Linked DNA regions of Homo sapiens: regions 2, 3, 4, 5 and 6 are each linked to region 1. Evidence: promoter capture Hi-C in 16 types of primary human blood cells and fetal thymus (Javierre and others, 2016). All regions are on one chromosome and are shown on one strand. Each heading gives the region's core, a stretch centred on a gene start or on the middle of the fragment in contact. The rest is flanking DNA. Distances are from core to core; before and after follow the strand shown. Region 1 holds the start of FBXL22 (F-box and leucine rich repeat protein 22). Region 2 overlaps APH1B (aph-1B gamma-secretase subunit). Region 3 overlaps DAPK2 (death associated protein kinase 2). Region 4 overlaps RAB8B (RAB8B, member RAS oncogene family). Region 5 overlaps CIAO2A (cytosolic iron-sulfur assembly component 2A). Region 6 has its middle 5.0 kb from the start of RPS27L.

The links. Contacts are between HindIII fragments. The CHiCAGO score rates a contact against its expected background, and 5 or more counts as called.
Region 2: a contact is called between a fragment that was not itself captured here and the fragment with the promoter of FBXL22 in region 1, in 3 of 17 cell types (M0 macrophages, M1 macrophages and M2 macrophages). The highest score is 7.0, in M0 macrophages.
Region 3: a fragment that was not itself captured here is called in contact with the fragment with the promoter of FBXL22 in region 1 in 1 of 17 cell types (naive CD8 T cells); the score reaches 5.3 in naive CD8 T cells.
Region 4: a contact is called between a fragment that was not itself captured here and the fragment with the promoter of FBXL22 in region 1, in 1 of 17 cell types (neutrophils). The highest score is 5.4, in neutrophils.
Region 5: a contact is called between a fragment that was not itself captured here and the fragment with the promoter of FBXL22 in region 1, in 13 of 17 cell types (naive CD8 T cells, naive CD4 T cells, non-activated CD4 T cells and 10 more). The highest score is 14.8, in naive CD8 T cells.
Region 6: a fragment that was not itself captured here is called in contact with the fragment with the promoter of FBXL22 in region 1 in 1 of 17 cell types (M2 macrophages); the score reaches 5.3 in M2 macrophages.

Annotation. Positions count from the first base shown.
Region 1 is chr15:63,595,181-63,598,735 of GRCh38, forward strand. It overlaps FBXL22 (F-box and leucine rich repeat protein 22), which reads left to right and starts at 2,207. Exons shown (of 2, transcript NM_001367807.1): 1 at 2,207-2,565. The coding sequence starts at 2,213. All of the region lies in intron 1 of USP3-AS1 (USP3 antisense RNA 1), which reads right to left. The HindIII fragment of the contact is 9,685 bases long and covers 1-3,555 here.
Region 2 is chr15:63,305,645-63,309,009 of GRCh38, forward strand. It overlaps APH1B (aph-1B gamma-secretase subunit), which reads left to right. Exons shown (of 6, transcript NM_031301.4): 6 at 1-3,365. The coding sequence ends at 137. Among named protein-coding and RNA genes, the nearest start is that of APH1B, 30 kb to the left of the region's middle. The HindIII fragment of the contact is 2,045 bases long and covers 921-2,965 here.
Region 3 is chr15:63,995,803-63,998,995 of GRCh38, forward strand. All of the region lies in intron 2 of DAPK2 (death associated protein kinase 2), which reads right to left. Among named protein-coding and RNA genes, the nearest start is that of DAPK2, 49 kb to the right of the region's middle. RefSeq lists an enhancer at 2,278-2,779. The HindIII fragment of the contact is 7,981 bases long and covers 1-3,193 here.
Region 4 is chr15:63,211,116-63,214,559 of GRCh38, forward strand. All of the region lies in intron 1 of RAB8B (RAB8B, member RAS oncogene family), which reads left to right. Among named protein-coding and RNA genes, the nearest start is that of RAB8B, 23 kb to the left of the region's middle. RefSeq lists an enhancer at 1-77. The HindIII fragment of the contact is 2,021 bases long and covers 431-2,451 here.
Region 5 is chr15:64,069,310-64,072,567 of GRCh38, forward strand. CIAO2A (cytosolic iron-sulfur assembly component 2A) reads right to left here. Exons shown (of 5, transcript NM_032231.7): 5 at 3,256-3,258. Among named protein-coding and RNA genes, the nearest start is that of CIAO2A, 23 kb to the right of the region's middle. The HindIII fragment of the contact is 3,006 bases long and covers 177-3,182 here.
Region 6 is chr15:63,160,710-63,164,305 of GRCh38, forward strand. No RefSeq gene overlaps it. Among named protein-coding and RNA genes, the nearest start is that of RPS27L, 5.0 kb to the left of the region's middle. The HindIII fragment of the contact is 3,798 bases long and covers 1-3,490 here.

The DNA of each region.
Region 1 (3,555 bases), core at 957-3,456:
TGTTCCGTAGGGCACATTCTTTTGGCAGCTGTGCTGGTCAGAGGCTGCGTGGTTGCTGTCACTGCTGCCAAACAGCATAGCTCTGGACAAGCCCAAAGGGGCAGAGCTTCGTCATCTCCTGGCTGTGCCTCAGACCCTCTGCAGCATGCAGGAGCACATTCCCCCTGGCCCTGGTAGTCTAGGATGCTTCCTGCAGCCTACCTGGAGGAACAGCAGAGGGGCAATGCTCTAAATGTTCTCCCTGCCAATCTTTTGCCATTCCAGCTGGGCTGCAGTAGTGCAACTTGGAAGCCATGCTGAAGCACAGTGACACTTACTCAGTGGAAGGCACAAGTACCACTCTGGCCTTGCAAGAAGTGGAAAGAACCACCTATTCCTAAGGGTCAAACCCTCTGAAAAGCATTGGTTTGAGGAGGATTGGGGAGGGAAAGTGGAGATAATGTGGCTTTCTAATAACACCACCTGTGGTTTTGCAGCATCCATTTTAAGTGGAGAAGTACACCTAGACAGAGCCTAAATTAGGGTGTCAGCTATAATTCAGAACTACATTGATGAGCTTGAAATAGCAGCAGTATCTTGCTCCCCTTCCTTGGGAAATGCTTCCTTTCGACCTCCTTGGTTTGTTTTTAAGAGAACCCCCTACTGTACTTCATCTTGGCATGGTGGAGTAATGGAGGCACAGGGGCACCAGCTGAGGCTGGCTTCTCAGGAAAGCCACTGACAATGGCTACTTCCTTCTTTGCTTGACTGCCTTCTGCTTTAAAGGCAAAGCTGCACCAGCCCTGACCAAACCTTAGTTCCAGAAGTGGGTTCAGCATAGGCTGCTTCATTTGTGTCTATGGGAAAACACAAGGATTCCCATTCCCTCTTATTCCAAATGGGAGAACAAACAGAAGTAACCACTGAGGTGGTGGTCCCTGGGCTGGCAGAGGAAAAACCATTCTCTTCTCACTATTGCCTAGGCAGAACGTGGCCTATACAGCTGCACCATATCAGCATCCCCCAAGCAAACCAAAAAACAACGACTGGGATTCAAAGCAGGAGAGTTAAGGTTGGGTCCTGGGTTTGGGAGTGAAGCAGCATGAGGAAACGGGTCTGCCATATCGTGAAGCCTCGGGTACTCAGGAAGGGGGAGCTTCACGGATAGTACCTCCAGGCACCTTGCCTAGAGTTGAGTCAGAGAGGGCAGGGGTGGCCCACTGGCTTCTCCAAGAGGGAACGGAGGGCACTCATAGAATGGATGGTGTGTGGTCAACTTAAAGGCAAAGATGGACTAAAATACTGAACTTAAAATTGTTTCAAGCAGTTTCACATTAAGAGCTACCTCATCCATCCTGACATTTTGGGAAGTACAGGTTATACATAGTACAAGGCCTTATCAGTGAGAAAATGTAAAGCCAAGTAAATTTAAATTTAAAACACAGAAAGTACTGCTTGACCAAAACTACAAAAACAACAACAACAACAACAAAGCACCAATAAAACATAAAACACAGACACACAACTTTGGAAAGCAGCTACTTCAGTAAAATTCTTTTATGAAACAACTCAGGGTAAAAATCTAGCTGTTGGGGAGGCCCAGGAAAATCCCCCTGCCTAGTGGCAGGCAGCAGGGCTTGAAGGCCAACCAGCCTAGCCTGGAGACAATTACTCTATGGCACAAAAATAACAGGAATGAGGCAGCAGCCATGGACTCTGCTCACAACTCACAACCGTCACCCTTAGCTCTCCACACGCAACAGGTTTCTTCCTAGTAAGGGTGGAGCAAAAGATTCACACTGATGTACTAGAAAATCAAAACAGTTAACATTTACAATTACACTCCTTCCCCCTAAGTACAGACTGCAAAGCCAGACAGAGCTGGCCTGGCCGCCACCACTGCCAATGAAAACGCCTTGGGAAAAGCCAAAAGTGCTCACTGCTAAACACCATTGTCAGCTAAAGGGAAAAAAAAAATCCCTTTTAAGGAAAGTAACTTCAATAGGCTCCTTTTCTGCCAGGACCTCCAATCCCTCTGAACATAAGCCGAACCACAGACTGCCGCACATGTGTCTGGGTCCTGGCTTTTCTTCCCTCACCCCTCCGCAGAGCTTCAGCACCAGTTGTTAGCCAAAAATAAACACCATTCCTCAACCATATATGTCCACCGGCCCAGAGTCGGGGAGGAGGAGAGGAGGCAGGTCAGCCGTCCCCCGGCTGCAGCTGCACTCACATGTGGCCACTGCTCACCATGCACATAACCCAGCTCAACCGGGAGTGCCTGCTGCACCTCTTCTCCTTCCTAGACAAGGACAGCAGGAAGAGCCTTGCCAGGACCTGCTCCCAGCTCCACGACGTGTTTGAGGACCCCGCACTCTGGTCCCTGCTGCACTTCCGTTCCCTCACTGAACTCCAGAAGGACAACTTCCTCCTGGGCCCGGCACTCCGCAGCCTCTCCATCTGCTGGCACTCCAGCCGCGTGCAGGTGTGCAGCATTGAGGACTGGCTCAAGAGTGCCTTCCAGAGAAGCATCTGCAGCCGGCACGAGAGCCTGGTCAATGATTTCCTCCTCCGGGTGTGCGACAGGTAGGCCACCTTGCCTCCTGAGCAGTGCTGGCCCCGCTAGCTCTGGCTTCCCTCTTGGGGGGCAGGGAAGAGCAAATTACGAGACCAAGATGGCTCCACCTTCGGGGCGCCTCAAACTAGGCCCAAGGCAGACATCCAGACCGCCCAAAGCAGGGTCCCCAGGAGACAATAAAATCATGAGGGAAACAATTGCTAATCCTCCTCTTAGCCTCACAGGTCCTGGGCTGCTTCATGCAAACACCAAGAAGTGGGGCCTCCGTACTGGTAGTCATTAAGTGCTGGGTGGGTCCAGCTGGGCCTGGATTTTCAAGGTCAGGCTCTGGGAAAAGGCTTCCAGATGCAGCAATCAGCTCACCCCTCCATTAGGCCTAGCAAGCAGCCCTCAAGGCCTGGGAAACTACGGAGGAAAGAGAGGGTGGGGAGCCAGAGGTGGAGAAGCCAGGGTGCTCAGGTCAGCTGAGCCAAACCAGACTCCAGGAGTAGATGAATTACTGATTTACACAGTATTCCTAAGGAGGGTGGCTTAGCCTAATTTTTCAAATTAGCAAACTGATGCTCCACGAGGTGGTATGATTTGCCCAGTCTAGGGTTGCCAGATTTTAGCAAATATATAGGCTGCCCAGTTAAATATGAATTTCAGATAAACAGTGAATAATATTTTAGTGTAAGTATGTCCCAAATACATCTTGTGTTTATCTGCTAACCCCCACCCCAGACACAGACATAGACACTGAACCACCAGGCCAGGCTCCCTCCATGGTCCCAGCCTCATGGGCAGAGCGGCCCAGGCAAGAACACAGAGCTATTCAACCAGCCTCTCACTGAGCTTCTGCCAGTCCCGTGCTGCCTTTGAGGAAAAACACCCCCTTGATCATATAACAAACTGGCCCTGGCTGTTCATGGAAAACTAGACTCAGCCAGTTTACTGCCACCCAAGTTCATAGCTGCTATTTGCTGGCAGCACGACAGGAGTGGAAGGAAACAGCGTAG
Region 2 (3,365 bases), core at 693-3,192, 290 kb before region 1:
TGGCGTCAGCATTTATAATCCTGGTGCTCATGGGCACCTGGGCATTCTTAGCTGCGGGAGGCAGCTGCCGAAGCCTGAAACTCTGCCTGCTCTGCCAAGACAAGAACTTTCTTCTTTACAACCAGCGCTCCAGATAACCTCAGGGAACCAGCACTTCCCAAACCGCAGACTACATCTTTAGAGGAAGCACAACTGTGCCTTTTTCTGAAAATCCCTTTTTCTGGTGGAATTGAGAAAGAAATAAAACTATGCAGATATGCGTTCCATTCACTTGGCTTTCACACAACTGCTCTCCGAAAGGGGTGCTCAGTGGTGTGCGTCCTGGCTGCACGAGAATCACCTGGGACAGTGTAAAGCCGACTGATTCTGGGCTCCACCTTCCAGAGCTAATTGGCCTGGGCACGTGGTGAGTTTTAAAAGCTTCCCAGGTGATTCTGATGTGCAGCCATGTTGAGACCCACTGGTTTGGTATCCAAATAGGAGCTTCCTGAGAACACCTTAAGTGGATGAGAATCTGGTCTTTAGCTGTCTCCTAACTCAACTCGTGCTGAGCAAGTAAGTATCTGAATGTCAAATCCTGGTTATCTTTTATCTTCCTAAGTTCTGAAGTCACAAAAGGCTAAAGGGCTATCACCCCTGCTCACTGTTTGCGTGTACTTCACCATCTTAGGAGAACACGGTAGGTTGGGCTTCTAAATGCAATAATAAATTACGCTGACTGTGGTAACTTAGCCAAAGTAAGATACTGATTAAGCCGTATTTTTCTGAAGTGCTTCCATTCCAGGTTTTGCTTTCTGAGGCATTACATTGTTTTTGAGTATAGATTACATTTTATTAACTAAAAATGATTGTTTTGTGACTTCCTTGGGAAGGTATTTTAAAATCAGGAATTTTTATGCAATGTCTATAAGCCTGTTTAAAGCTTTCCATGGGCTCTGCCCCAAGGCCGTTGGCTGCAGCGTTCACCATCTGAGTGCCAGTTGCTGGACTAGTTGAGGTGAAGTGCATTGTTTTCTCTCTGAGCAGCTGTGCGGGGAGCTGAGTGATGTGCCCTGGGACAGGCTTCACTGGAGCTGGTGGAAGTATAACCAGAAGCACAAGGAAATGAGCCAAAAGGGTGTCATTGACACTTTTCATTTGCTCCTGTGATACTAACAACACTTTCACCCAAATGGCTTAATGTAATATTGGAAATAGATCTTAAACTGCCAAATCTCACACTATTGCATAATCCATATGCTCTTTAGATCTAGTCAGTGTCTCTGGGTTTTGGTAGCAGATACAGCGTTCCCTTTACAGGAATACCCAAGGTGTTCTTTCAGCTTCCAGACAGGTCCTTTGATTTCCTTTATAAAGGGAAAATTCTGGCAAATCGTGCCTTTACTATTAGAAATTGTTCCCAGTTGATGTCTTTTGGGGAGCTGGTGGCATGAAATGCAAATGACCTATACATTAAAGTGATGTCTCAGTGAATACCATACATGCAGTAGAACATTCAGAAGAGAGGAGCAGCAATCCTGAGGGGCTGGGGGAGTGACAGTGGCAGGACGGATGGGCGGGTTTGACAGATTGTGGTGGGAAGAAGAATGATCATGTTTAAAGCTAACATAGCCAGTGTTTTGGGCTAGCCACACATCATTCCAGAGACCAAAACCTTACTCATGAACTAGACCTTTATCGATATCAGTGAACCCCCATGTTTAAAATATTAGAATGTTTAGAGATAAAATAGAGATAATAGAGATAAAAGAAGAGGAGGGCTTCTATCAATGCTGTAAACAGTCTGATAAGCGACTGTGGTTATTCCCCTAAAGTTTACTTCAGCACTAACACTAGTGCTTCCGCTGGAGTTTGCAGTTTTCCAGCTTTATACAGGATTTTCCTTTGACTGGAAGAGTCAAGGATATAGAGACTCAACAGTGACATTTATTGTACAACATCAAGGGGAATAGGATACTCATCAAACTGGGATTATTCTTATCAAAACATGGTCTTCTTTGAATAAGAAAAATACATAGTTGGTTATTATGGACTTAAAACTGTGTTAAATGGATATTCTGATAAAATATTTGCTGCTCTGTAGAGTGTGGAAAGTCTGAGAATATTAGCTTTACTCATCTTGAGCTTTGAGGATGTTCTCTGTACGCCGATGGTTTCATATTAACTAAAAAAGCTGGGTATTGTAAAATCTCATTTATAAAAACTCAGATGAGAAGAAAATTTTCTTTGATGGTGAGACTGTTGTCTTAGTTCAGGAAATTATTTAATAATCCTTTGTTACCTGTGAATGAAGGAACTTTGTAATTCTGATTTATCGTAAAACATGAGCCTTTCCAGAGTCAGCTTAGACACTGTTGTCGCAAATAGCCATGCTTTGCCTTATGCCAAGGAGGCCCAGAGGGAGGGCCTAGTCTTCCTCTGTTGCTGTACATATATTGAAATGCTTTTTTTTTTTTATTTTGCATTTGTTATCTATAATGAGCTTTCTGAGCCCTGATATTATGTGAGACAAACAGGAGTTATTGATGTTATACACTCCCTTCCATTCAGGATTTTCTGCTTGGAGGGAAATATGTTGACCTTAGAGAATTGTGAATATTGTTGCAATTCTTGAATATATTACCATGTGAATAATAGAGACTGTGTTGCTCTCTAGTATAAGCTATATTTATTTTTGATTCATTTGAATTACTAGTTATAACTGGAGAAATTTTGTTACCTCTATCCTGGCTTGCCTGACTGGCTGTATAATAGCAGCAGCCTCTTTTAGAGCATCTTAATGAAAACATGGATGAAAGGAATTAATGATGATATCTGCAGACTGCGTAGAAAATGGCTTTTGTTCCCAGCGTTAACATTTTCTTCTCAATCACATTTCAATGTTTGTGGAGAGTGGCAGATTCACACCAGAAACACTAGGTGTTCATATCCATAGCATGGATGCAGAATAAGCAGTTGGGAGAGAAGCTTCTTCCTACCTGGTACTCCTCCCATTCACCTCAGCCCAGCCCCAGACAGGCGTTAGCATTCAGTGTGGGCCCTCAGGCAGCCCTGAAGCCTGGCTGGGTCATCAGATGGGGGCAGCCTGTGACGGGCACCAGCGGCCTGATTCCAGGGAAGAGTTCCTGGAGGGTGTTGGCTGTTTTTGTTAGCTCAGTTTTTTTCTGGGCTCCACCATTCCTAACTCCAGGTAGACAAGATAGATGTCACACACAACAATTTTAAAGTATTTTGCTTAGTGCATTTTGTTTATGATTGCAGTGTTTGTTTCTTATTTAATAGGCTTTTTACTTCATTCTATTAAATTTTAGTGTTTAGAAGAGGCGGGTACTGTCACTGTGTAAAATATGTAATATTTTATATGT
Region 3 (3,193 bases), core at 665-3,164, 400 kb after region 1:
CCCCCAGGGTGGGCCACAGCTGTGAGGCAACCAGCACAAGACCCCTTTAGAGAGGCAAAGCATCTCTCCTGACCCCAAATTATTCAGCATGTGTGTAGTGTCCTTTACAGTAGGACTCACATGTTGGCTTTCTTTCAGAAATTACCAGAAAGATGTTTGTCTACCTCATTTCAGATAATGAAAATGATGTCATCTATCTTATTTCCTTTTTGTTATCTTGGTACCAAATGACAACAACTATGATGACCTAGATGTTGGGTGTATTTCCTCCTTCTTCCTTTGCACCATGGATTCTCAAACTTGGGGGCATATCAGAATCATTTGGGGAGCTGGTTAAAAATTCAGGCACAGCCAGATGCAGTGGCTCACACCTATAATGCCAGCACTTTGTGAGGCTGAGACAGGAGGATCACTTGAGGCCAGGAGTTGAAGACCAGCCAGGGCAACACAGTGAGATCCCATCTCTACCCTGCCCCCCAAAATTGTTTTAATTAGCTGGGCATGGTGGCATGTGCCTGTAGTCCCAGCTACTCAGCAGGCTGAGGTGGGAGGATCATTTCAGCTTAGGAACAAGAGACTGCAGTGAGCTATGATGGTGCCACTGAACTCCAGCCTGACAACAGAGCAAGACCCTGGCTCTAAACACAAAAATATTAAAAATAAATAAAAATAAATGAGACACCCGGGCCTTATTACACATTTGCTAAATCATACTCTTCTGGAGGGCATCTGGCTTTTGATCTTCCACTTTTATGTTTGCTTTCTATGTGCCTCTCATCATAGGTTGCCTCAAATTCTTAACATGCATGAGCAAGAGGAATCATAAGTGGTTCTGTGCTGCCATCACTGCAGCGTTCACTCCAGGACACGAGCATGGAGAAATACAGTGGGCAGCAGAGCACGACTTCCAAAACGGAGCTTAGCCCATTTCACAGACGGCTAAAGGGAGTCCCAAAGTGTGAAAGGCTTTGCCCAAGGGAGGACTACTCAGGCAATCATGTACAGCCGATCCTAATGGCCAAGTTCATTGTAGAGCAAAAAGCATTTATCACAGGAATGAAATGGTGCCACCCCCATCCCCCTCTGCCCCCACGCTTGCAGGTGGCCTATTCCCTCATCCCCACCCTCAAAAGATTTGGCTTTAGGTCCACACCCAGCCTTTCTGCCCACAAGCCTGGAGGGCTGGGTGGGGACAGAAGGAACAGGTCCAAGTCCTCTTAGAAGCACATCTTCCTCTACACCTCTCCCATCCAGCCCTACTCCCCAGCAGACACCAGAGCCTCTGTCAGGCAAGCGGCTCAGAGTGCAACTGTGCCATCTCCTCTGTCATCACCACCCCCAATTAGCAACTCCCAGGTGCCTTCAGGGTTGCCACTCCTGCCCCACTCCTCCAACTCTGCTCTAAGCCATTACAGGCTTTGGCACTGCCTGACAGGTTTCCTTCAAGCCTAATTGTCAGGGCGCAGGAAAGGTATGTGTCAAATCCAACATGATTTATTTGTCCTTTGTCTACCCCAGCTGCAATTTATTTTATTTTATTTCTGAGACAGATTCTCGCTCTGTCACCCAGGCTGGAGTGCAGTGGCACGATCTTGGCTCACTGCAACCTCCACCTCCCAGGTTCAAGCAATTCTCCTGCTGCCTCAGCCTCCCAAGTAGCTGGGACTACATGTGCCCGCCACCATGCCTAACTAATTTTTGTATTTTTAGTAGACATGCGGTTTCACAATGTTGGCCAGTCTGGTCTCGAACTCCTGACTTCAGGTGATCTGCCCACCTTGGCTTTCCAAAGTGCTGGGATTACAGGTGTGAGCCACCATGCCCGGCCTTTGCTGCAATTTAAAATGGACCCTAGCCTCTAAAATGGTCTCTTTCCTCTAGAAAACCCACCCATCAAGTCTCCCACACTAACTGCCTCTAATTGCCCTTGTCCTCACCCACATGGCCCACACTGGAGTCAAAGAGGGGCAGAGGTTAACCAGCAGTGCTCTGAGGGCACGGAGGTCTCTGGAAAGGACTCCAAGATAACTCCAGTCCAGTTCTGTTACAAGGTGGCTGTGAGACCCTGGGCGAGTTTCATCATCAGTGAGACAGGAATGAAAACCGCCTCATAAGCTATGATGATTTCATGCACTGATCCACACAAGTGCCCACAATGGCATCCAGCACATGGTAAACACCAACAAATAGGATTTTATCCTTGGTGCTCTGGGCTTCAGTTTTCCCACCTGTGAAATGAAAGTAATACACTTATCTCACAGTCAGTTAAGAAAAAGGAATTTGAGAATTGGGAGAACACAGCACAGAGCCTGACATATCCTTGGTGCTTAGGAAGTGGTTTCTGATTGATGAAGGATGAAGCAGTCAGACAGTGAGTGTCATGAGTCAGAGCAGACATTCTTACCCATGGGTGCAGGCTGCCCTTCCCTGCCCCTCAGTACCCCAGAAAATCACCTCCGTCCTCAGGGAAACAGGCCCACAGAGCAGTCATGGGCTCCCACATGGATGTGGGCTGGCCACACAAGCACATTCCTGCCTTGAGAGGTGGCAGGTCCAGGCTTTCCCTCTGGGACAGAGGGAGAAGCCAGGTTGTGTCTCAATATATTAGGGCCCAGGAGAGCCAAAGGATGGACTGTCTCCCTCAGGCTGCCTGCCACCACACTGTTCCTGCAGGCTGGGGACTCTGCAGGGTCTCTCCTGCCAGAGGCTGGGCCTGGCTGGCAAGCCTCCTCTATACACAGAGAAGGGTCCCCACATATGCCAGGCTCTCTGGCTCCCTGGGTCTCTGCAGGGTGGACCTATGCCCGGAGGAGACCCAGGGGAATCCCCAGGAAGCCCAGGCAGGAGCAGCTGAGGTTGCCATGGCCGTAACAGTAGGTGCTTTCCGTGTGCACAGCTTGGCATCCTCCCCCTTGCAGCTCGTCCTGCCCTGCACTGTTCTGTCTACTTCCCGGAATCTCACCGTGGGCTGTAGTCTCCTGAAAGGAAGGGACAGTGCTGCTTGTTCACTGTTGTGCGTTTGTGCTGGATGAGGATTAAATGAATAATGAGTCTTGAGAGCAAGCACCGGGAACACAAAGATGAACAAGATGCAGTGCCCATCCACGGAAGAACCACCAAATATTGGAAGAAGGCAGCTTCCTCGCAAATCTTCTCTTTCCTAAAGGAAATATTCTATATATTGACTCTCCTG
Region 4 (3,444 bases), core at 191-2,690, 380 kb before region 1:
TCTTATCTGCAAAAACCCAAATAAAAGTGAAAGACCAGCTCTGCTTTTATTAGCTTAAGTGTTTTGTGTTAAAATCTCTTTTGGCCTAACTTTTCTTTATTGACAAGAGAACAAATAGTAGAATATCCTTTGTAGATCGGAAGTATAGAAATTACTGAGAATACTGGGAAATGCTTCACAGATGTTCCTGAAACTACAGCCAGATTGAGTGAATTCTTGTCCCTTTCTGAGTTGGGAGGTTGGGAGATTATTGTCTCACGTACTGTGATATTATAACTGTGTTCTACCCCAGACTATATGTGTTCACCATCTCTCTCATTGAGATTCTGGTTTAACCCTATTATATCCTTAACTTTGATGGCCATTAGAATAGGAAAGAATGTTTACGCAAGACTTTAGAGAGAGCCATAGTTTGATATTTCCTTTATAAAGCTTCCTGATACTGTGTTTAGTATTTACTTTCTTTAAATGTATCTTCTTAAAAGTACAGGTAGTGTGGTAGAGTTCAAAATTAACTTCCAGTTAAATCCAGTCATAGTTTTGGTGGATTTTTTTTGCCAAGCACCGCATTTTTCTTAGTATTGTCATATATTGACTGACACTAGTCAATTGCAACTAGTGACTGGTCATGATAGATATTGATAGACATCTCATAACTGTCATGGCTGAAGGGGAGTTGCCCCTAGTTGATCATTCAACAACATGAAGAGCCCTGTGTTTTTTTCTTTTTTTTAGAGACAGGATTTCACTCTGTCATTTAGGCTGGAGTGCAGTGGCGCAATCATGGCTCACTGCAGCCTCAACTTCCCAGGCTCAGGTGATTCTCCCACCTCAGCTTCCCAAGTAGCTGGGACTACAGGTGTGTCCCACCATGCCCAGCTCATTTTATTTAATTTTTTAAGAGAGGGAGTCTCTCTATGTTGCCTGGGCTGGTCTTGAACTCCTGGGCTCAAGCAGTCCTCCTGCCTCAGCATCCCAAAGCGCTGGGATTACAGTCATGAGCCACAGTGCCTGGCCTAAAAGCCCCATCTTCCTACACAGTGCGTTGTAGTCTTTCCTCCTGAATTGATGTAGAGGCATCCTTGATGTATAACAAGCAGAGCATGCTGAACTAGTTCGCAGCAAAAAACAAACAACGAAAACTTGATATCCAGGTTGTTCTTGGATAGGTCACCATGTTTATCATTTTTAAACATCCGGGGTTGTGAGATAAAGTTGTTAAGGGAGGGATTGCACCAGCACATTTTTCTGTTTCAGTTCATGTTCATCTGACTCATATTTATTCTAGTCTAACCTCATTTTGCGTGAAAATTTTTGTACTAGAAAATGTCACTTTCAATTAGGGGAGGGGAAATTCTGATTGGGGATCAGAAGAGTCAAGATGTATTAGTGATAATTTGGCATCACTTTTGATTCAAGGTAAAAACACAGAATCCCTAAAAATGTAGTAAAGTAAAAAGTGATTCATATAACTAGATAGGGGAAAGGAAATGTCACTGCTGAGCTTTACTGTGGGAAGAGGGGGAGGTGAAGGAAATTATTACAAAATTTTTGTACGTGATGAGGAGACAGCCTCTGGACTTCCCCAAATATTTCCGTATTCCCTAAAACAGCTCTAGTGAATTGCTTCATGATTGGTGTATGAATAGAAAGACACTAGAACTCTTAAACTTGATCTTGAAAGGCCCGTCTTTGTATATAATCATCCACAGATGTCCGTATGTGATTATATATTCCCATAGTGAGGCAATGATAAATGTAAATGAGAACCATGATATAATTTTGCCTTGCTTGCATGCACATTTTCAGAATAGAATTAAAAGCACATGCCACTGTCAGTAGTTAACTATGAGGTTTGTCTTAGTTTTTTATAAGGCTTTGGCAGAGGCCTAAAGCATGTTTTAGTGTCTAAGTCTTCCCTCCCTCCCTCTCTTCCTCCCTTCTTTCCTCCCTTCCTTCCCTCTTTGGAATCAAAAAGGAACTCTCTAGGTTCTGACTATTCTCTTTTCAGAACTAGGGACAATTTCAGCTTGTACACAGATTAATTTTCATTTTTTGGCTTCTCTGCTGGTACCTGAAATTGTAACTAAGTTATTACTAGATAATTCCTTTCTGACTTCTTCCTTCAAATAAAATCTGATAAGGACAAATGTCTTCTAGGTACTATTTCAGGTGGATATGTTTGGAGGGGGACGTGGGGCAAAGCAGAGGATAGGCTAGGGGTGCTGTTATAATGTAACTTAGGTCAGTTGATTGGTGCTTAGTAAATCATGGTTTTCTGTATAGTGCCAAATGCTCAGAAAATCTGTACTGGATAAAGAATTTCTTGTTCAAGTCTATTTAGTTACTGTACTTATGCCTAAAACTGGAATGTGCTCCTCTTTTAAATTCAGTAGGCTGTGCATTTATGACTATAGATGATACCACTTTCATTTTTAAAATAATGATAAAAGCTTAAGTTGTAAATTTAAGTTGTAATATGGACACTTAAAAAAAAACCCAAAACAAAACAATCTTCCTTCTGGTTATGGGGAATTCCTACATGAGTTCTTTCCAACTGCTTTTGTTTATATGAGTGTTGAAACTTAAAATGAGTAAATTCTGTCTTCCAAATAATTTTCTACATTTTCCATTTATTTCCATCGCTTATATCTGCTCTCAAGAACAAAACAAAAGTGGTTTCCAGGCCAGGCGCGGTGGCTCACGCCTGTAATCCCAGCACTTTGGGAGGCAGAGGCGGGCAGATCACGAGGTCAGGAGTTCGAGACCAGCCTGGGCAACATGGTGAAACCCCTACTCTAATAAAAATACAAAAATTAGCTGGGCGTTGTGGCATGTGTCTGTAATCCCAGCTACTCGGGAGGCTGAGGCAGGAGAATTGCTTGAACCTGGGAGGTGGAGGTTGTGGTGAGCCAAGATTGTGCCACTGCACTCCAGCCTGGGTGACAGAGCGAGACTCTGTCTCAGGGGAAAAAAAAAAGTGGTTTCGTTTGCTATACCAACGTGTAAAATGTAGAAATTTCCAGTGTTTAAAAATTCTGATTGGCTATTCCTTTCAAGGTATTACAGTGTGGGAGGTAAAGGATCTAATGTAGTTATCTAGGAGTTTAAGTTTGAAAAAGAATTCAACAGTGTTGAATTCCTTGGAAATGGGTACGCTCAGTTTCTTTCTTTTTTTTTTTTTTTTTTTTTTTGAGACGGAGTCTCACTCTGCTACCCATGCTGGAGTGCAGGGCCATGATCTCGGCTCACTGTAGCCTCCGCCTCCCAGGTTGCAGCGATTCTCCTGCCTCAGCCTCCCGGGTAGCTGGGATTACAGGCAGGTGCCACCGTGCCTGGCTAATTTTTGTATTTTCAGTAGAGACGGGGTTTCACCATGTTGGCCAGGCTGGTCTTGAACTCTTGTCCTCAGGTGATCTGCCCACCACGGCTTCTCACTTGATC
Region 5 (3,258 bases), core at 430-2,929, 470 kb after region 1:
GCACGTGACACCATGTCCAGCTAATTTTTGTATTTTTAGTAGAGATGGGGTTTCACCATCTTGGCCAGGCTGGTCTTGAACTCCTGACCTCGTGATCCACCCGCCTCGGCTCCCAGAGTGCTTGGATTACAGGCGTGAGCCGCTGCACCCAACCTAAGCCACCACGCCCGGCCATAAGCTTCTTATTTGTAACGGTCTAAGAAAGCAGTGGATAAATAATTAGTTGAGCGTGGTAGCTCTCATCTGTAGTCCCAGCTTCTTGGGAGGCTGAGGTGGGACAATTGCTTGAGCCCAGTAGTTTGAGGCTGCAGTGAGCCCTGATGGTGCCTTTTCACTCCAGCAGGGGCGACAGAGAGCGACCCTGTCTCAAAAGCAAAAACAAGAAGGTAGTGGCTCCTACTGGGGCTCAGAAAGCAATAACCCAAAATATGGCTCCTTGGTGTGCTGTGAATTAAAGAAGAATAGAAAGCCTCAGAAGCAGCCTCAAAAGCAAAGACTCTCTCTGACCATATCCTGCCCTGCTGTCTCCTGCCCCTTCCTCCTCCAAAGGGAGTCATAGAAAACAGAATCTGTCTTCCCCAAGGGAGGAAATAGAAACCAGAACCTCTTTTCAAAGCAAGCCATACCAGTCTGGGAAACATGGCAAAGTCCCATCTCTACAAAAAAATACAAAAAAAAATTTAGCTGGGCATGGTGGTATGCACCTGTGGTCCCAGCTACTTGGGAAGTTGGGGTGGGAGGATCACTTGAGCCTGAGAGGTTGAGGCTGCAGTGAGCCATGATTGTGCCACTGCACTCCAGCCTGGGCAACAGAGCAAGACCATCTCAAAAACAAAAACAGTAACAACAACAAAAAGCAAACCACAAAACCTAGAAATATTACTCTAACTTTCCCCCGCCTTTCTGTGCATGAGCTGGCCATAAAGAAATTCTCTGACCTGCCTTATCTAACAGTAGGTCATAAGACTGCCCCATACCCAGGAGGAAGGAATGCTACACAGAAAGGCCAAGAAGAATCTGAAGAGATAGTCCTTGCTGGGTTTCCCCACTTAGTCCATTACCATTAGATCGCACTTTTTGTCCAATCACATTTCTACACAATTGTCCACTCTTCGTCAAACCTAAGCAGAAAAATAAGACAGTTTTCCCTGGGTCTTTGGATTCTTCCTATCTGAAGCCTGCTGTGTCACATAAAACTTGGATTGACCACATTTGTTATGCTTTTCTCTTGTTACCCTGTCTTTTGTCACGGGGGTGTTGGCCATGACCTTTATGATGGGTGAGGAAAGGTATCACACCTTCTGCCCCTATACTCCCAAAGTTGTGAACCCTCAGGGCTCTGGGGGGTTATTAAAGGAGGGGGGAGCCCAGTGCTCAGCTAGCATTACTTGTAAAGCAGAGTTATTAACCCGGGGTCCACTGGCTCCTTAGCAAGTCTGTGAATGTCCTGGAGTCACATGCAGTTTCATGTGAGTGCCTTTTTCTCCCTAGGGAGAGGGCCCATTCCACATCTTTTATCTGATTTTCCAATTGGTCTGACTTTTCAGAAAGGATAATCATTCTTGTAAATCAGGAGTTTGCTAATGGCACACAGGCCAAATCCAGCCCAATGCTGGAATTTTGTACAACCCACAAGCTAAGATGGTTTTTATATTTTTAAACGGTTGAAAAAATTAAAAAGGAAAATATTAATTCATGACACATGAAAATTATATGAAATTCAAATTTGTGTCCATAAAGTTTTCTTGGAGTGCAATCATGCTTATTTGTTTACAGACTATCAGCTGCTTTTGTGCTACAAGGGCAGAGTTGAATAGTTACAACAGAGCATATGGCTTGAAAAGCCTAAAATATTGCCTATGTGGCCCTTTTCCAAAAACGTTTCCTAACCCTTGCCAAACATGGACCAGATAACACTACTTCTGACTATATATGTACCTCTATTTTTCACTTCTATGTAGATACCATTATGATTAATAAAGTTTAAATTCATGTTCTAATATAATTAATGCAGTAGATGTTAGTTTTTTGACCCCTCTCACTCTACTATAGAATTCCCACCATGTGAGTCTTGCTGGGGGGACAGAGTCCACCTCCCCACACCAAAGGTCAGATTTTCTTTTCTCCCGCCTTCTTGGCAGCCAGGACATGGACATGTGACTTGAGATCAGCCGACTAGAGATCTCAGCTAGGACTAGGAAGCTGGAGTGAGTCACACAAAAATGAGAAATCACTCTGGCAGTAGCGGAGACAACAGAAGTCACATCTAGCTTCCAGGAGCAGCAGGGCCAGCAGTTCAGGTGACTCCTGTAGCAATGATCCACTTGGAGTTGCATGTCAGTAGTGTCCTCACCAGACAGTCCCTAAGGCATGGTTTTGTCTTTGGACCTGCTGCCCGGCTTCTGTTTCTACTTGGCCAGGACGAGCTCAGGCAGTAGATAAAACTGAGTCCGAATCACTCACTGCCTGGAGCAGAGAGAAGCTGAAGGTCCAGGCTAATAAGTATGAACTCCAGGAGGACAGACAATGGCTGATGTATCTTTGTGTCCTTGGCACCCAAGACAGTGCCTGGGTCCAGACTTTGGGAGCTAGGCAGTTCTGCATCAGGAGTTCACTCACATGGTTTGCAAATTGCTGCTGGTTGTTGTTGGGAGGCCTCAGCTGCACTCCGTGTGGAATTCTCCACAGGGTGGCTTGAGTTCTCGTGACATAGCAGCTGGATTCCTACAGAATAAGCAATCCAAGAGCCTAAGGTGAAAACAGCAATACCTTTTATGATCTAGCCTCAGAAGTCACCCATTGTCACTCTGCCATTCTTTATTAGCCACACCCATCAGCTCCAATTCAATATGGAAGTTAACTATACAAGGGCATGAATACCAGGAAGTGAGGATCTTGGGGGCCATGTTGGAGGCTACTATACTTCACATGACCATTAACCCCTAAAACAAACCAAATGAAGGACAGATAAAGTGCGGACCATACATTTAGGTTGGTTTAATCAAAACTTCTTTGGTGGACTTCTTGATCTTCAAAATTGTGTATGCCATCTAGCCTTCTCCACATTTGTTCCTTATCTATGAAAGGGTCCAGGACTCTCCTTGGAAGGAAGGAAGGCCCAATCTTAAGGGTTCCTTTTGGTTCTCAGATCTCTGATTCTACAAAATAATCAGCAAAAATAAAGCTTTGAAGATATCCTTTAGGAGTTGACATTTACACTGGAATTTACAATTCAATAAAAACAGTGAGTCATTATAA
Region 6 (3,596 bases), core at 342-2,841, 440 kb before region 1:
AATACTTTGTCATATTTCATTGTTGTTGTAATTAATATTTTCCATATGCTTATTGGCCATTAGCATTTTTCTACTTTTGTTTTCTTGTGTTTTTGAAACAGGGTCTTGCTCTATTGCCCAGGCTGGAGTGCAGCATCAAACTCCCAGCCTCAAGCAATCCTCCTGCCTCTGCCTCTCAGAATGCTGGGATTACACTGTGACACACTGTGCCCTGCCTAATTTTATTTTTTGATAATTTGTTTTAATCATGCAGAAGTTTTTAATGTTATATATTCACACACACACATACATATTTCAAATTTATTGCTTTTTTCCCTTTTGCTATTGTGTTTAGAGAGGACTTGGTCACTGTAGGATTAACTGAATATTTGCCGTTGCTTTCTTCTAATTCTCTTGTGATATTTATTCTTTAACTTTTTAATTAAGTTGGAATTTATTTTGGCACTTCATGTATCATAGGTCTCAGAACAATTTCTGATTATTAGGCCTAGTTATGGCTTCAGTTCTTGTTAACTAATGCCCGGTGTAGTGTCAAAATCCTCCAGCCTCTCAGACACTCACAGGCAGCCTGAGAAATAAAATTTTCCAGGTCAAGAAGACCTGGACTCTAATTACAACTCTGCCTCCTCCTCCAAAGCTCAGTTTCTCCTAAAATGTTTTCAGGCCCCTGCACTGATGGCAGATGGAGGGCCCTGGAGTCCCTTTACACTTGGCACCCTGCTCTCAGGGATCCTGCAGAAGGAGCTCCCACCTGGCTTTCCAAAGAACTGTAGAGCACCAGTCAAAATCCTATTTACTGCCCTGAGAACTTTCCATCCATTCTAGCTGGCCAGGTCTAAGTAGGTGCCACTGAAACCTTCCATTTGGCACTGGCTCCCTTCACCTCAGAAGGGTGTGGGGGCCATCTCTACTCCCATCTCCCTTTACCAAATTCTTTTTTTTTTTAGATGGAATTCCAGGCTGGAGTGTAGTGGTCCCGATCTCGGCTCACTGAAACATCTGCCTCCTGGGTTCAAGTGATTCTTGTGCCTCAGCCTCCCAAGTAGCTGGGACTACAGGTGCACGCATCATGCCCAGCTAATTTTTGTACTTTTAGTAGAGACGAGGTTTCACCATGTTGGCCAGGCTGGTCTCAAACTCCTGACCTCAGGTGATCCGCCCACTTCGGCCTCCCAAAGTGCTGGGATTACAGGTGTGAGCCACTGCGCCCAGCCTCCCTTTACCAACTTCTAGTGCTGATAAAACACATAGGTGTTCGGACAGGCTAAGCCGGGAACCCAACTAGTGCTAAATTTCAGGCCCCAAGTGCTGCTCTAAATAAATCAGATCCCCAGCTTTCCCCTGGACTGAAGTTTTTCAATGCCTATGCCCTTTTCCCAGAAAGATGATCAAGGGTTTAGTTTAGTTTTGCTTTTAAGAAATTCAGGCCAGGCGCAGTGGCTCATGCCTATAATCCCAGCACTCTGGGAGGCCGAGGCGGATGGATGATTTGAGGTCAGGAGTTCAAGACCAGCTTGGCCAACATGGTGAGACCCCATCTTTACTAAAAATACAAAAATTAGCCAGACATCAAGGTGTGTGCCTGTAATCCCAGCTACTCAGGAGGCTGAGGTAGAAGAATCATTTGAACCCGGGAGGCGGAGGTTTCAGTGAGCTGAGATCGCGACACTGCACTCCAGCCTGGGCAACAGAATGAGACTCCGTCTCAAAAAAAAAAAAAAAAAAAAAAATTTAGAGTTTGAGGTGGAGGTCCTAAAGATAACTTTTCTTTTTCTGAGTCAAGGTCTCACTCTGTTGCCCACACTGGAGTGCAGTGGTGTGAAACAGCTCACTGTCGCCTTCACATCCTGGGCTCAAGCAATCTCATCAGCCTCCAGAGTAGCTGGGACCATAGATGTGTACCACCACACCTGACTTATTTTTTAAAAATTTTGTAGAGACGGGGTTTTGCCATGTTGCCCAGACTGAAGATAACTTTTCTTTTTTTTTTTTTTTTTGAGATGGAGTCTCACTCCGTCGCCCAGGCTGGAGTGCAGTGACATGATCTCAGCTCACTGCAACCTCCACCTCCCAGGTTCAAGCAATTCTCCTGCCTCAGCCTCCCCAGTAGCTGGGACTACGGGCATATGCCACCACGCCCAAGCTAATTTTTATATTTTTAGTAGAGACGGGGTTTCACCATGTTGGCCAGGCTGGTCTCGAACGCCTGACCTCAGGTGGTCCACCCACCTTGGCCTCCCAAAGTGTTGGGATTACAGGCGTGAGCCACCGCGCCCGGCCTAAAGATAACTTTTCATACCCTTTCTAAGTATTTTTCTGAGACACTTCGAGAAATCTGTGTCATCAGGAAACTATAACAAGACTGCATTCTTTTTTCTCTTCCATTGTCCACCTATTGGCAGTTATTAAAGTGCTTGTGGCTCATTCTCAACACACTCCTGAAATCAGCAGCAACTTCTGCAAGTGTGTGTCTTTTCTGCCTACCAGTTCTCCAACAGGACCACACCCATGGCCCCCAAAGTGCCAACTGTAGAGTTGCCATCTATCTGTTATTCATGAGGATGCTTCATGAAACTCTCTTCAGTCATCCCTTCTGAGTGGCCATCTGTGATCTGCCAAGACCCTGACACGAGGATCCCCTGTCAGGATGTGGTCCTCTTTTAGCCTAGAAGGCGTTGCAGTTGGGGTCCATCTGCTCCTCAGTCATCAATCAAACCAAATCACCGCAGAAACATCCTTTGTCCCTGCCTGTGGGACCATTCAGTTTTAACAGGCTGCGGCTCCTCCTGTTCTATGCTTGAAATGGATATGGGAATCTTAAAGGAGACAGCCTGTAGTCCTAGCCATGTAGATCCTTGCCACTTTGTGGACCAGCCACCTACAAACTTTTTGGAAATAGAGACTCTCAGGCGCCACCCCTGAACTACTGAGTCAGAATCTGCATTTTAACAATGGTGATCCTTGTGCACATCCCTGTGTGAGAAGCACTGGCCTAGATATATCACACTGCCATTCTCTCTGGAGTCTTCCTACCTCCCCGCTGGGGCCGTCAGGAAGCCAGAACCCAGGTTTCTGCTACTCCAGGGTAACAAATCAAGGATTTTTCTCTATATTGGAACAGGAAAGCACTCCTCTTTCACTGCTTCTCCAAGATACTCTATTCATTCCAGCAAATCTCATTCTCTCTTACCATATCTAGGAACCTTTTAAGTCAGTGATACCAAAGTTGTTTGCTTTTTGGAATCACCAAAGGAGCAGCTGAGGTCAATTAAATTAGAGTATTTAGGGGTGGAACCCAGGCGGCAGTATTTTTAAAACTCCCCAGGTGATTCCATGAACAGCCAGCATTGCACTTCCTGCTATAAATTGTCTGGAGGGCTTAGAATTTATAAAAGCAAAGCCCAGAAAGTACTATATGCTTCTAATGCTTAAAAGGAGAATGAGGGAAAAATACAGGGAGAAAAAAATCATTAATATTTCAAAATAGCCAAGCTTGGCAGCCAGGTGAGATCTCCTAGCACTTGTCCTGCTTGCCTTGATGATCAGGTCTCTTCATTTCCCCTACCATTGCTTCCTGCAAACCTTCTCACTATCCG